Linked DNA regions of Homo sapiens: regions 1 and 2 are each linked to region 3. Evidence: promoter capture Hi-C in human tissues and cell types (Jung and others, 2019). All regions are on one chromosome and are shown on one strand. Each heading gives the region's core, a stretch centred on a gene start or on the middle of the fragment in contact. The rest is flanking DNA. Distances are from core to core; before and after follow the strand shown. Region 1 has its middle 10 kb from the start of PIAS4. Region 2 holds the start of TJP3 (tight junction protein 3). Region 3 holds the start of ZFR2 (zinc finger RNA binding protein 2).

Region 1 (3,602 bases), core at 21-2,520, 130 kb before region 3:
TGGAGTCTCCTATGTCCACTTCTTTCCACACAGACAGCGTAACAATCTGACCTCTCTTTCTTTTCCCCACATTTCCCCCTTTTTCTATTCGACAAAACCGCCATCGTCATCATGGTCTGCTCTCAATGAGCTGCTGGGTACACCTCCCAGACGGGGTGGCGGCCGGGCAGAGGGGCTCCTCACTTCCCAGACGGGGCGGCCGGGCAGAGACGCCCCCCACCTCTCGGACGGGGCGGCTGGCCGGGCGGGGGCTGCCCCCCACCTCCCTTCCGGACGGGGCAGCTGGCCGGGCGGGGGCTGCCCCCGGCCAGGCTGGTCTTGAACTCCTGACCTCGAGTGATCTGCCCTCCTGGACCTCCCAAAATGCTGGGATTACGGGTGTGAACCACTGAGCCAGGCCTGTATGCTAGTAGAACTTCATAAACACAGAAATTTCAATCTTACGTATTTTCACATGTCATGTTATTATTATGCTTTTGTTTGAACATTTAAAAGAGAAAGAAGGCCGGGTGCTGTGGGTCGGGTGTGTAATCCCAGAACTTTTGGAGATCCAGGCAGGAGGACTGCTTGAACACAGGATTTCTACACCAGACTGAGCAACATAATGAGATCCTCTCTCTGCAAAAAATAAAAAATTAAGTAGGCATGGTGGTGCACGCCTACAGTCTTACCTACTCAGGTGGATGGCTTGAGCCCAGGAGTTCCAGGCAGCAGTGAACCGTGATTGTGTCACTGCACTCCAGCCTGGGTGACAGAGAGAGACTCTGTCTCAAAAGTAATAATAATAATAATAATAATAATAATACGCTGGGCGCAGTGGCTCATGCCTGTAATCCCAGCACTTTGGGAGGCCGAGGCGGGCAGATCACGAGATCAGGAGATCGAGACCATCCTGGCTAACACGGTGAAACCCCGTCTCTACTAAAAATACAAAAAATTAGCCGGGCATGGTGGCGGGCGCCTGTAGTCCCAGCTACTCGGGAGGCTGAGGCAGGAAAACGGCGTGAACCCGGGAGGCGGAGCTTGCAGTGAGCCGAGATTGTGCCACTGAACTCCAGCCTGGTTACAGAGCGAGACTCAAAAAAAAAAAAAAAAAAAGATTAGGGCTGAGGGCTGTAGCTTGCTAGTCTTTGTTAGAGATGCTCAGACACAGTGGTGACCACAACAGGCAAAATTCCCTGTCCTCGTGGAACTGGCATTCCAGGAGGGAGATCAACAACAAACAAAATCAAAAGCTAATTAAAGGTCCCGGCGTGGTGGGTCACGCCTGTAATCCCAGCACTTTGGGAGGCTGACATGGGCGGATCACCTGAGGCCCAGAGTTCGAGACCAGCCTGGCCAAGATGGTGAAAACCCATCTCTACCAAAAATAAAAATTTAGCTGGGCGTGGTGGCACACGCCTGTAGTCCCAGCTACTTGGGAGGCTGAGGCAGGAGAGTCACTTGAACCCGGAAGGTGGAGCTTGCAGTGAGCCGAGATGGCACCACTGTACTCCAGCCTGGGCAACAGAGGGAGACTCCATCTCAAAAAAAAAAAAAAAGGCTAAATACAGAACATGTTCAGACACTGATGGGAGGTAGACAGACAAGAAAGAGGAGAGGGAGGCTATGGAAAATCCCCACACGACCAATTTAAAGCTTTACAGCCTGTTTTAGGACAGAATTCATCAGTTCTAAATCAGATCCTTTGCAATTCTGACAAAATTCACAAACCACCTCCACTGTTATGTAAGATACATAGAGATAGATGGAGAGAGGTAGATATAGATACAGATAGTTACTCCCGTTTTGCACTTAAGTAAATGGAGTTGTTTCCTGGGCAAAAATACCTATGAGCTGGGCGCGGTAGCTCAAGCTTGTAATCCCAGCACTTTAGGAGGCCGAGGCGGGTGGATCATGAGGTCAGGAGTTTGAGACCAGCCTGGCCAACATGGTGAAACCCTGTCTCTACTAGAAATACAAAAAAAATTACTGGGGCGTGGTGGCACGCACCTGTAATCCCAGCTACTCAGGATGCTGAGGCAGGAGAATCTCTTGAACCTGGGAGACAGAGGTTGCAGTGAGCCGAGATGAGGACACTGCACTCCAGCCTCGGTGACAGAAGGAGACTCCATCTTTACCAAAAAAAAAAAGTATCAAATTGTGAATTTGGTGTTAGCTGAATATTAAAAGCATCTTAAATTTAAATAAAGTTGTGTGCACGTTTGTATATATGTATTTCAAAACATAGCAATGTATTATCACAATTGATTGCATTTTCTGGCTCTAAAACAGATTGTAGGCCAGGCACAGTGGCTCACTCCTGTAATCCCAGCATTTTGGGAGGCCGAGGCAGGAGGATCACCTGAGGTCAGAAGTTTGAGACCAGCCCACGCAACATGGTGAAACCCCTGTCTCCACTAAAAATACAAAAATTAGCCGGGCATAGTGGCACACACCTGTAATTCCAGCTACTCAGGAGGCTGAGACAGGAGAATCGCTTTAACCCGAGAGGCAGAGGTTGCAGTGAGCTGAGATCATGCTGCTGCACTCCAGCCTGGGCAACACGCGAGACTCCATCTCAAAAAAATAAAATAAATAAGTAAATAAATAAATAAAACAGATTGTATAAACAAATATAATCTAATTGGGGGACAGGTTGGGCGCCGGGGCTTAGGCCTAGAATCCCAGCACTTTGGGAGGCTGAGGCAGGAGGATTGCTTGAGCTCAGGAGTTCAAGACCAGCCTGGGCAACATAGACCCCATCTCTTCAACAATCTTAAAAATACCCAGGTATGGCCGGGCGTGGTGACTCACACCTGTAATCCCAGCACTTTGGGAGGCCGAGGCGGGCAGATCACAAGGTCAGGAGATTGAGACCATCCTGGCTAACACGGTGAAACCCTGTCTCTACTAAAAATACAGAAAAATTAGCCGGGTGTCGTGGCATGCGCCTGTAGTCCCAGATGCTGGGGAGGCTGTGGCAGGAGAATGGTGTGAACCCGGGAGGCGGAGCTTGCAGTGAGCCGAGATGGCGCCACTGCACTCCAGCCTGGGCGACAGAGCGAGACTCCATCTCAATTTAAAAAAAAACAACAAAAAACCCAGGTATGGTGGCGTGAACTTGTAGTCCCAGCTAATCGGGAGGCTGAGGTGAGAGAACTGCTTGAGCCTGGGAGGTCGAGGCTGCAGTGAGCTATGATCACACCAGTGCACTCCAGCCTGCGTAACAGTGAGATGCTGTCTAAAGATAAATAAGTAAATAATTGAATTGGGAGTTAAGGAATTTGTTCTCTCTCCCACCACCCCACCCTCAGGGCATTTTCTCAGGGACACAGAAGTCTCTTTCATAGGAATAACCACCCGCCTACTATTTTTTTTTCTTTTTGAGACTGAGTCTCACTCTATCACCCAGGCTGGAGTGCAGTGGCAATATCTTGGCTCTCTGCAACCTCCGCCTCCTAGGCTCAAGCAATCCTCCCACCTCAGCCTCCTGAGTAGCTGGTTTTATAGCCACACGCCACCATGCCCAGCTAATTTTTTTGCAGTTTTTGTAGAGATGAGGAGAATTGCTTTAACCCAGAAGGTGGAGGGTTGCAGTCAGCTGAGATTGTGCCACTGCA
Region 2 (3,697 bases), core at 332-2,831, 160 kb after region 3:
TGTTGGCCAGGCTGGTCTCGAACTCCTGACCTTGTGATCCACTCGCCTCGACCTCCCAAAGTGCTGGGATTACAGGCGTGAGCCACCGCGCCCGGCCCTCAATATCCCCATTTTACAGAGCAGGAAACAGAGGCCCGGAGAGAAGGGAGGTGTGGAAGCCAGATCTAACTGAGTCCACGGGTTTGCTCTCAAAACCCAGGCAAGGTGGGATCCATGTCGCCCACCCCCACGGACTCCCGAATCTCAAGCAAGCCTGCTCCCTGGGAGCTCTGCAGCCACACAGCCACAAGGTGACCCCAAATGCCGGGCCGCTCTGTCCCCCACTATGCGATCATCCATGCCTCCTCGGCCCCGGGGGACCCTCTTGGTTCTGGAGAGAGACTTGAGATGCAATCGGACACTTGGCTCACGAGGAAGCTCCCTTGGTCTTCCCATTTGGGAGCAAATGACCCAGAAAAACACTTTTGCTGCCGACCCCTCCCCTCTCTGGCTCTGAGCGCTCCTTCCTCCTTCCCCTCTGCCCCATCCCACAGAGATTTTGCTCGGAGGAGTAAAGATTAGAAAAAGAAGTCTGGGCGCAGTGGCTTGCGCCTGTAATCCCAGCACTTTGGGAGGCCGAGGGGGTTGGATCACCTGAGGTCAGGAGTTCGAGACCAGCCTGGCCAACATGGTGAAACCCCATCTCTACTAAAAATACAAAAATTAGCTGGGCATAGTGGTGGGCGCTTGTAATCCCAGCTACTCGGGAGGCAGAGGTGGAGGCAGAGGTTGCAGTGAGCCAAGATCGCACCACTGCACTCCAGCCTGGGCAACAAGAGCAAAACTCCGTCTCAAAAAAAAAATTAGCAAAAGAAAGGCCACCCCAATCCCTCCCTGCAAAGCTCCTGGAGGTTCCAGCGGTGAGAACAGGGTGAGGGGTTGGGGGGCGGGAGACGCAGTTGTTTCAAAACTTGGGAGCCTTTTAAGAAGTTCCAGGAGGCTCAGAGATGAGTGAGGTCGCAGCCTTTCCCACCTGTCACCTCCTAGCCTCGGGCTGCAGGAGGTAAACCCAGGCTCCGTCTGGACTGATATCCCCTCCCCTCCTCAGTTAGGGGGATCAGAGACCAACCTGTGCCCCTTTGCCGCCTCCCCGGTCCCTGCGCCACCTAGGTAACAATGACCCTTTTAAGTTTCCAGCTCAGCGTCCTGGGCAGGCCGCCAGGTGCAGTAACTGCCGGTCAGATAATCCCTACGAAACTATGTCAGATGCCCACGCAGGAGTGTCAGTTTCCTGCTTTCCGAGGAGCCGGGGAGACAGCTCGTGGTGGGGGAGGTTGGGGGGGAGTCTAAGGACCCTCAGCTGGGGAAGGCCAGCTCAGACAATGCACACTGGGTGGAAAAGCACAGTGGGGCGGGGGACTTACCTGTCTAGGAGGCTGGGTGGCCTCTGGGCAGGCAGCAGGTGCCAGGGCCCGGGTGCCTGCCTGGCACGGGTGGTGGGGAGGGAACCCGAGGCTTGTAGCTCTGGCCTCCCCACCTGTTTGACCAACTTTTCCTCTCTTGTGGTGGCAACAGGGAGGCAGGTCCCCTGCCAGTGGAACTGACGACCACAGACACAGGGAGACGGACCAGGGTGAGGGGCGGGCCAGCAGGAGGACTGGGTGTGTGGCTCTGTCGCAAGGTGCCCTCACGTGGGAGCAACTGGCCTTAACCCCTGCTTGCCCAGAGGTGAGCTTGCTCCTGCCTGTGCCCTCACCGCCGAGGCCCTGGTATCAAGCGTCCGCACATGGTAGGTGCTTAGGAAACCCTCGTTGGCTACATTCAGACATGAATGGACCGCACTCCCGGAGTCCCCCTCCCTCCTGCTTCTTGCATCTGGAGCTGCCCAGTCTCTGTGCTTGCTGAGCCTCCTGCCAGGCACGCCGGCCCATCAGGCTGTGGCTTGGCGCACTCCCTTCCCCACGCAGATCTGTGCGCAGTCTGCCTCTCTGCTACGAAGTGACTGGGTTCCTACGTACAGAAGCTTCTGCCACTTCCCCGCTGTGTGGCTTTGGGCAAATTACAGGGGCTTCTTGCTGTCCTCATCTAAAAAACAAGAAAGGGTCAGGTGTGGTGGCTCACACCTGTAATTCCAGCACTTTGGGAGGCCGAGGTGGGAGGATCACTTGAGCCTGGGAATTTGAGACCAGCCTGGGTAACACGGTGAAACCCATCTCTAGAAAAATTTTTATATATCTTTTGTTTGTTGTTTGTTTTGAGATGGAGTCTCCCTCTGTCACCCAGGCTGGAGTGCAGTGGCGCGATCTCGGCTCACTGCAACCTCCGCCTCCTGGGTTCAAGTGATTCTTCTGCCTCAGCCTCCCAAGTAGCTGGGATTACAGGCGTGCACCACCACGCCCAGCTAATTTTTTTTTTTTTTTTCAGTAGAGACGGGGTTTTCCTATGTTGGCCAGGCTGGTCTCAAACTCCTGACCTCAAGTGATCTGCCCGCCTCGGCCTCCCAAAGTGTTGGGATTACAGGCGTGAGCCACCGAGCCTGGCCTAGAAAAGTTTTTTTGTTGTTGCTGCTGGCTGTTGTTGGTTTTGTTTTGTTTTTTGTTTTTATTTTATTTTTTTTTTATTTTTTTGAGACAGAGTCTTGCTATGTTGCCCAGGCTGGAGTGCAATGGCTTGATCTCGGCCCACTGCAACCTTTGCCTCCCGGTTTCAAGTGATTCTCCTGCCTCAGCCTCCCGAGTAGCTGGGATTGCATTACAGGCACCAGCCATCATGCCCAGCTAATTTTTGTATTTTTGTAGAGACGGAGTTTCACCATATTGGCCAAGCTGGTCTTGAACTCCTGGCCTCAGGTGATCCGCCTGCCTTGGCCTCTCAAAGTGCTGAGATTACAGGCGTGAGCCACCACGCCCAGCCCAGAAAACTTTTTTAAAAATTAGCCAGATGTGGTGGTACACACCTGTAGTCCCAGAAACTCAGGAGGCTGAGGTGGGAGGATCAATTGACCCTGGGAGGTTGAGGCTGCAGAGAGCTATGACTGTGCCACTGCACTCCAACCTGGGTGACAGAGCAAGATCCTATCTCAATAAAATAAAATTAACCAGGAAGGGTTGGGCATGATGGCTCACACCTATAATCTCAGTACTTTGGAGGCCAAGGTGGCAGGATCACTTGAGGCCAGGAATTCGAGACCAGTCTGGGCAACATAGTGAGACACCCCCCCATCTTTACCAGTACATTAAAATTAAAATTTAAAAAATTAAGTCTGGGCTCAATGGCTCACCCCTGTAATCCCAGCACTTTGGGAGGTTGAGGTGGGAGAATTGCTTGAGTTAGGAGTTCGAGACCAGCCTGGCCAACATGGTGAAACCCCATCTCTACTAAAAATACAAAAATTAGCCGGGCAAGGTGGCATGCGTCTGTAATCCCAGCTACTCAGGAGGCTGAGACGGGAGAATCGCTTGAGCCCCAGAGGCAGAGGTTGCAGTGAGCCGAGATCGCGCCACTGCACTCCAGCTTGGGAGACAGAGCAAGACGCTGGCTGAAAAATAAATAAATAAATATTAAAATGCCACCTCACAGAGGTCATGGACTTTGTCGTGCTCATCCCTGCCGTGTCCTATGGCCTAGCACAGTGCCTGGTACACAGTAGGTGCTCAATACATGTTTTTGGAATGAATGGACTAGGGTCCCTCCAGCCTGCAGTACCTCCTGCTGACGG
Region 3 (3,863 bases), core at 474-2,973:
GTGACTCTCCCTCCCCCTCCTTCCAGGCTGCAGTCTTGGGAAGGAAGTCACTATGCACAACCCACACTCAAGAGGTGTAGAGTTACTCTCTATCTCCTTAAGCGCAGTGTAGCTACACAAATTAGGAATTCTTCTGCATAAGAGATTTGTCTGTTTGCCTCCATTTATTTGTTTATTCATTCAATTCTTTCTCTCTCTCTCTCTCTCTCTCTTCTTTCCTTCCCTTCCCTCCCTCCCTGCTCCTCTCCCTCTCCTCTTTTATTATTTATTTATTTATTTTTTTATTTTTTATTTTTTTATTTTTTTGAGACGGTGTATTGCTCTGTTGCCCAGGCTGGAGTACAGTGGTGTGATCTCGGCTCGCTGCATCCTCCACCTCCTGGGTTAGGTAATTCTCCTGCCTCAGCCTCCCGAGTAGCTGGGATTACAGGTGTGCCCCACCACGCCTGGCTAATTTTTTTTTTTGTATTTTTAGTAGAGACAGGGTTTTGCCATGTTGGCTAGGCTGCTCTTGAACTCCTGACCTTGGGTGAGCTGCCCACCTCGCCTTCCCAAAGTGCTGGGATTACAGGCGTGAGCCACCACGCCCAGCCCTTTCTTTCTTTTCTCTTTTTTGAGACAGGGTCTCACTCTGGAGTGCAGTGGTACAGTCACAGATCACTGCAGCCTTGACAGCCCAGGCTCAAGTGATCCTCCCACCTTAGCCTCCTGAGTAGCTGGGACCACAGGCATGTACCACCATGACCAGCTAATTAAAAAAAAATTGTAGAAACAGGGTCTTGCTATGTTGCCCAGGCTAGTCTCAAAGTCCTAGGGCTCAAGATCCTCCTGCCTCCGCCTCTCAAAATGTTGGGATTACAGACGTGAGCCACTGTGCCCGGCCTATCATTTATTTATATCACGTTGTGAACACAGGAGGCAGAGACCATGGGGGCCTTCTGAAGAGTCATTCTGAGGCTAGATGCAGTGGCTCACGTCTGTAATCCCAGCACTTTTGGAGGCCAAGGCAAGATTATTTGAGGCCAGGAGTTCAACATCAGCCTGGGCAACATAGCAAGACACTGTCTCTACAAAAAATTTAAAAATTAGCTGGCTGTGGTGGTGGTGGGGCTTGAGCAGAGACCTCCACATCTGAGTGGTTAAAGAGAAGGTGGGGCTCGGAGACAGAGGTAGGGCTTGTGCAGAGACCATATCTGAGCAGGTAAAGGGAAGGCGGGGCTCCGAGAAAGAGGCGGGGCTTGTGGCATGGGTGGGGCTTGAGCAGAGACCTCCACACCTGAATGGTTAAAGGGAAGGTACGGTTCCAAAAAAAGGCGGGGCTTGTGGCATGGGTGGGGGTTGAGCAGAGATCACATCTGAGTGGGTAAAGGGAAGGCAGGGCTCTGAGTAAGAGGCGGGGCTTGTAGCATGGGCGGGACTTGATCAGATACCACCACATCTGAGTGGTTAAAGGGAATGTGGGGCTCCGAGAAAGAGGCAGGGCTTCTAGCATGGGCGGGGCTTGAGCAGAGACCTCCACATTTGAGTGGTTAAGAGGAGGGCGGGGCTCTGCGTAGGAGGCGGGGCCTCGGGGCAGGTGTGGTCGCGGGGCGGTGTCTCCCTAGCCTAAGAGAAGGAAGCGAGAAGGTGAGGGCTTCGCGCAGGGGGCGGAGCTTGGGGCGCGTGGCCAGGCGCGAGCGGCACGCGGCTCGGGGGCGGGGCGGGTGACGTCGCGGGTCCGCCAGGCTCGGGGAAGACGCCAAGATGGCGACGAGTCAGTATTTCGACTTCGCGCAGGGCGGCGGCCCGCAGTACAGGTAACTGCCCCGCCGCGCCAGCCCCCGCCAGTCCCGGCCCCTGCAGCCTGGCCGGGACCCCGCCTACCCCTTCTCCCGCCGCGTGCGCCCGGCCCGGCCCCAGTCCCAGCCCCAACCTGGAACCCCGGCCTGAGGGAAGCCGCGGCGCCGGGAGAAGCAGGCGGGGCGGCCTCAGGTTAGGCACCGGGCGGGATGCGGGCTCCGGGGCTCCGGCTGAGACGTCTCTGCAGCCAACGGTGTCTGTCGGCGGGAGCGGGAGGGGGCTCCTGAAGTGGGAGGGGGCCTGGGTTTGGGCCTGGGCCTGTGCGGGGTCGGGGGGGTCAGCCCCTGATGGGGGCGCCACGAGGAGGGCAGCGAGAGGGGACAGACCCGGGCGGGGGGTGGGTGGTCTGACCGAGGAGGGGAGGGGACGGAACTGACCCAATGCAGGGAGGAGACCTGGGAGGTGCCTGGCCGGGGAGTGGGTGGGGATGGGCAGAGGGGAGCTGACCCCTGATTGCTGGTAGGGGAAGAGAAGACACAGACCTAGGAGGGTGTCTGGCTGGGCAGGAGGAGGGGAAGGGCAGAGGGGCATTGACCCCCGATTGCGGGGGGAGGAGAAGACACAGACCTGGGAGGGTGCCTGGCCGGGCAGGGGGATGGACAGAGGGTAGCTGACCCCCGATTACTTGTAGGGGAGGAGAAAACAGAGATCAGCGAGGGTTCCTGGCTGGGCAGGAGGAAGCCACAGTCGAGGGGTGAGGAATTGGCCCCTGATGGGGGTAAGAGAGAAGACAGAAACCTGGGAGGGTGTCTGGCTGGACAGGGGGAGAGCTAGAGCGGAGCTGACCCCGATTGCTGGTAGGGGGAGAGAATTCAGACCTGGGAGGGTGTCTGGCTGGGCAGGAGGAGGGGAAGGGCAGAGGGGCGTTAATCCCCGATTGCTGGAGGAGGAGAAGGCAGAGACCTGGGAAGTTTCCCGACTGGGCAGGGGGCAGCAACATTCGAGTGTGGAGGGCACTGACCCCTGATGGTGGGGGTAGGAGAGAAGGCAGAGACCTGGGAGGGTACCTAGCAGGCAGGGGCAGAGACCTGGGGTGGGGTGTGGAGTAGGGGTGGGAACCTGACCCCTGATGTGGGGTGGAGGAGAGAAGACAGAGACCTGGGAGGTTACCCCAGGGAGGGGCGGAAACCGAGGTTGGTGGGGAACTGAGGCCTGACTGGGGAAGGGGGACAGAGACTTGGCGGGAAGCCAGTATTATGTGGGAGGAGGTCCTGAGGTCAAATAAGAGGGTGGGCACCTGGGTTTCCAGGGAACTGGGACCCTGCTGGGACAGTGAGGAGGGAGAAAGGGCCCTGAGTGTTGTGATATTTAAGATCCTTTTCTAGGTCTTAAATATGTGGTCGTTTGGGAGGGGAGGGAGAGAAAGGATCCTGGAGGAGAGATGGCAGGGGATGGGGACACACTGGGAACTGGCCAGGGGCAGAAGGGCTCAGAGGGTAGGGACACACACGGGGTAAGTTTGTGCCCCAAGTGTACAAACACACACTCTACACTGTTCTCCCAGGCCTGCTCCTCGGAGCATCTCTGCTATCTTCAGCCCGTCCATCTGCCCCCAAGACTGGAGTCCCAGTCCGGGAGCCAGGGCTGGCATCTCTGAGGGGACCAGATTCCCCCCCCAACAGTTGATCATTTCCGCGTGTCACCCTTGTGTTAGTTTCCAGCTGGTAGCTTGCTATAACCTTGTTTCTCACAGTCCCTGCTGAGCCCCCACAGATACAAACCACCCCTTGGGCACCTCATAGAGGGGCCTCTGCTGAGCTCAGGGGGGTCTTTGCCCCCCGCGGTGTTCCTACTGCATTTCAGCACATGGAAGAGAGATCCAGGCTGGTGTTTCAGCTTCCCGCGGTGGAGCGGCAGTGCCGACCCTTCCACCAGTGCTGTGATATTGCTGTGCCCTTTCTAATGGAATCACAAAGAGAAACCACCCAGGGCTTGGAAACCAGGGCTGTGGGAATGAGGAGTGCATCTGTTTCCTGCACTCGGAGTGGTTTCTCTGGTGGAGTATTTGACTAGTAATGGATTTC

Evidence for each region. Contacts are between HindIII fragments. The study calls those that stand out against the background at their distance.
Region 1: a contact is called between a fragment that was not itself captured here and the fragment with the promoter of ZFR2 in region 3, in 1 of the 25 tissues and cell types used here (neural progenitor cells).
Region 2: the fragment with the promoter of TJP3 here is called in contact with the fragment with the promoter of ZFR2 in region 3 in 1 of the 25 tissues and cell types used here (IMR-90 fibroblasts).

Annotation. Positions count from the first base shown.
Region 1 is chr19:3,995,488-3,999,089 of GRCh38, reverse strand. No RefSeq gene overlaps it. Among named protein-coding and RNA genes, the nearest start is that of PIAS4, 10 kb to the left of the region's middle. RefSeq lists an enhancer at 1-251. The HindIII fragment of the contact is 5,265 bases long and covers 1-3,602 here.
Region 2 is chr19:3,706,268-3,709,964 of GRCh38, reverse strand. It overlaps TJP3 (tight junction protein 3), which reads right to left and starts at 1,581. Exons shown (of 21, transcript NM_001267560.2): 1 at 1,404-1,581. RefSeq lists enhancers at 811-1,472, 1,473-2,136. The HindIII fragment of the contact is 5,666 bases long and covers 594-3,697 here.
Region 3 is chr19:3,866,898-3,870,760 of GRCh38, reverse strand. ZFR2 (zinc finger RNA binding protein 2) reads left to right here and starts at 1,723. Exons shown (of 19, transcript NM_015174.2): 1 at 1,723-1,796. The coding sequence starts at 1,744. The HindIII fragment of the contact is 14,046 bases long and covers 1-3,863 here.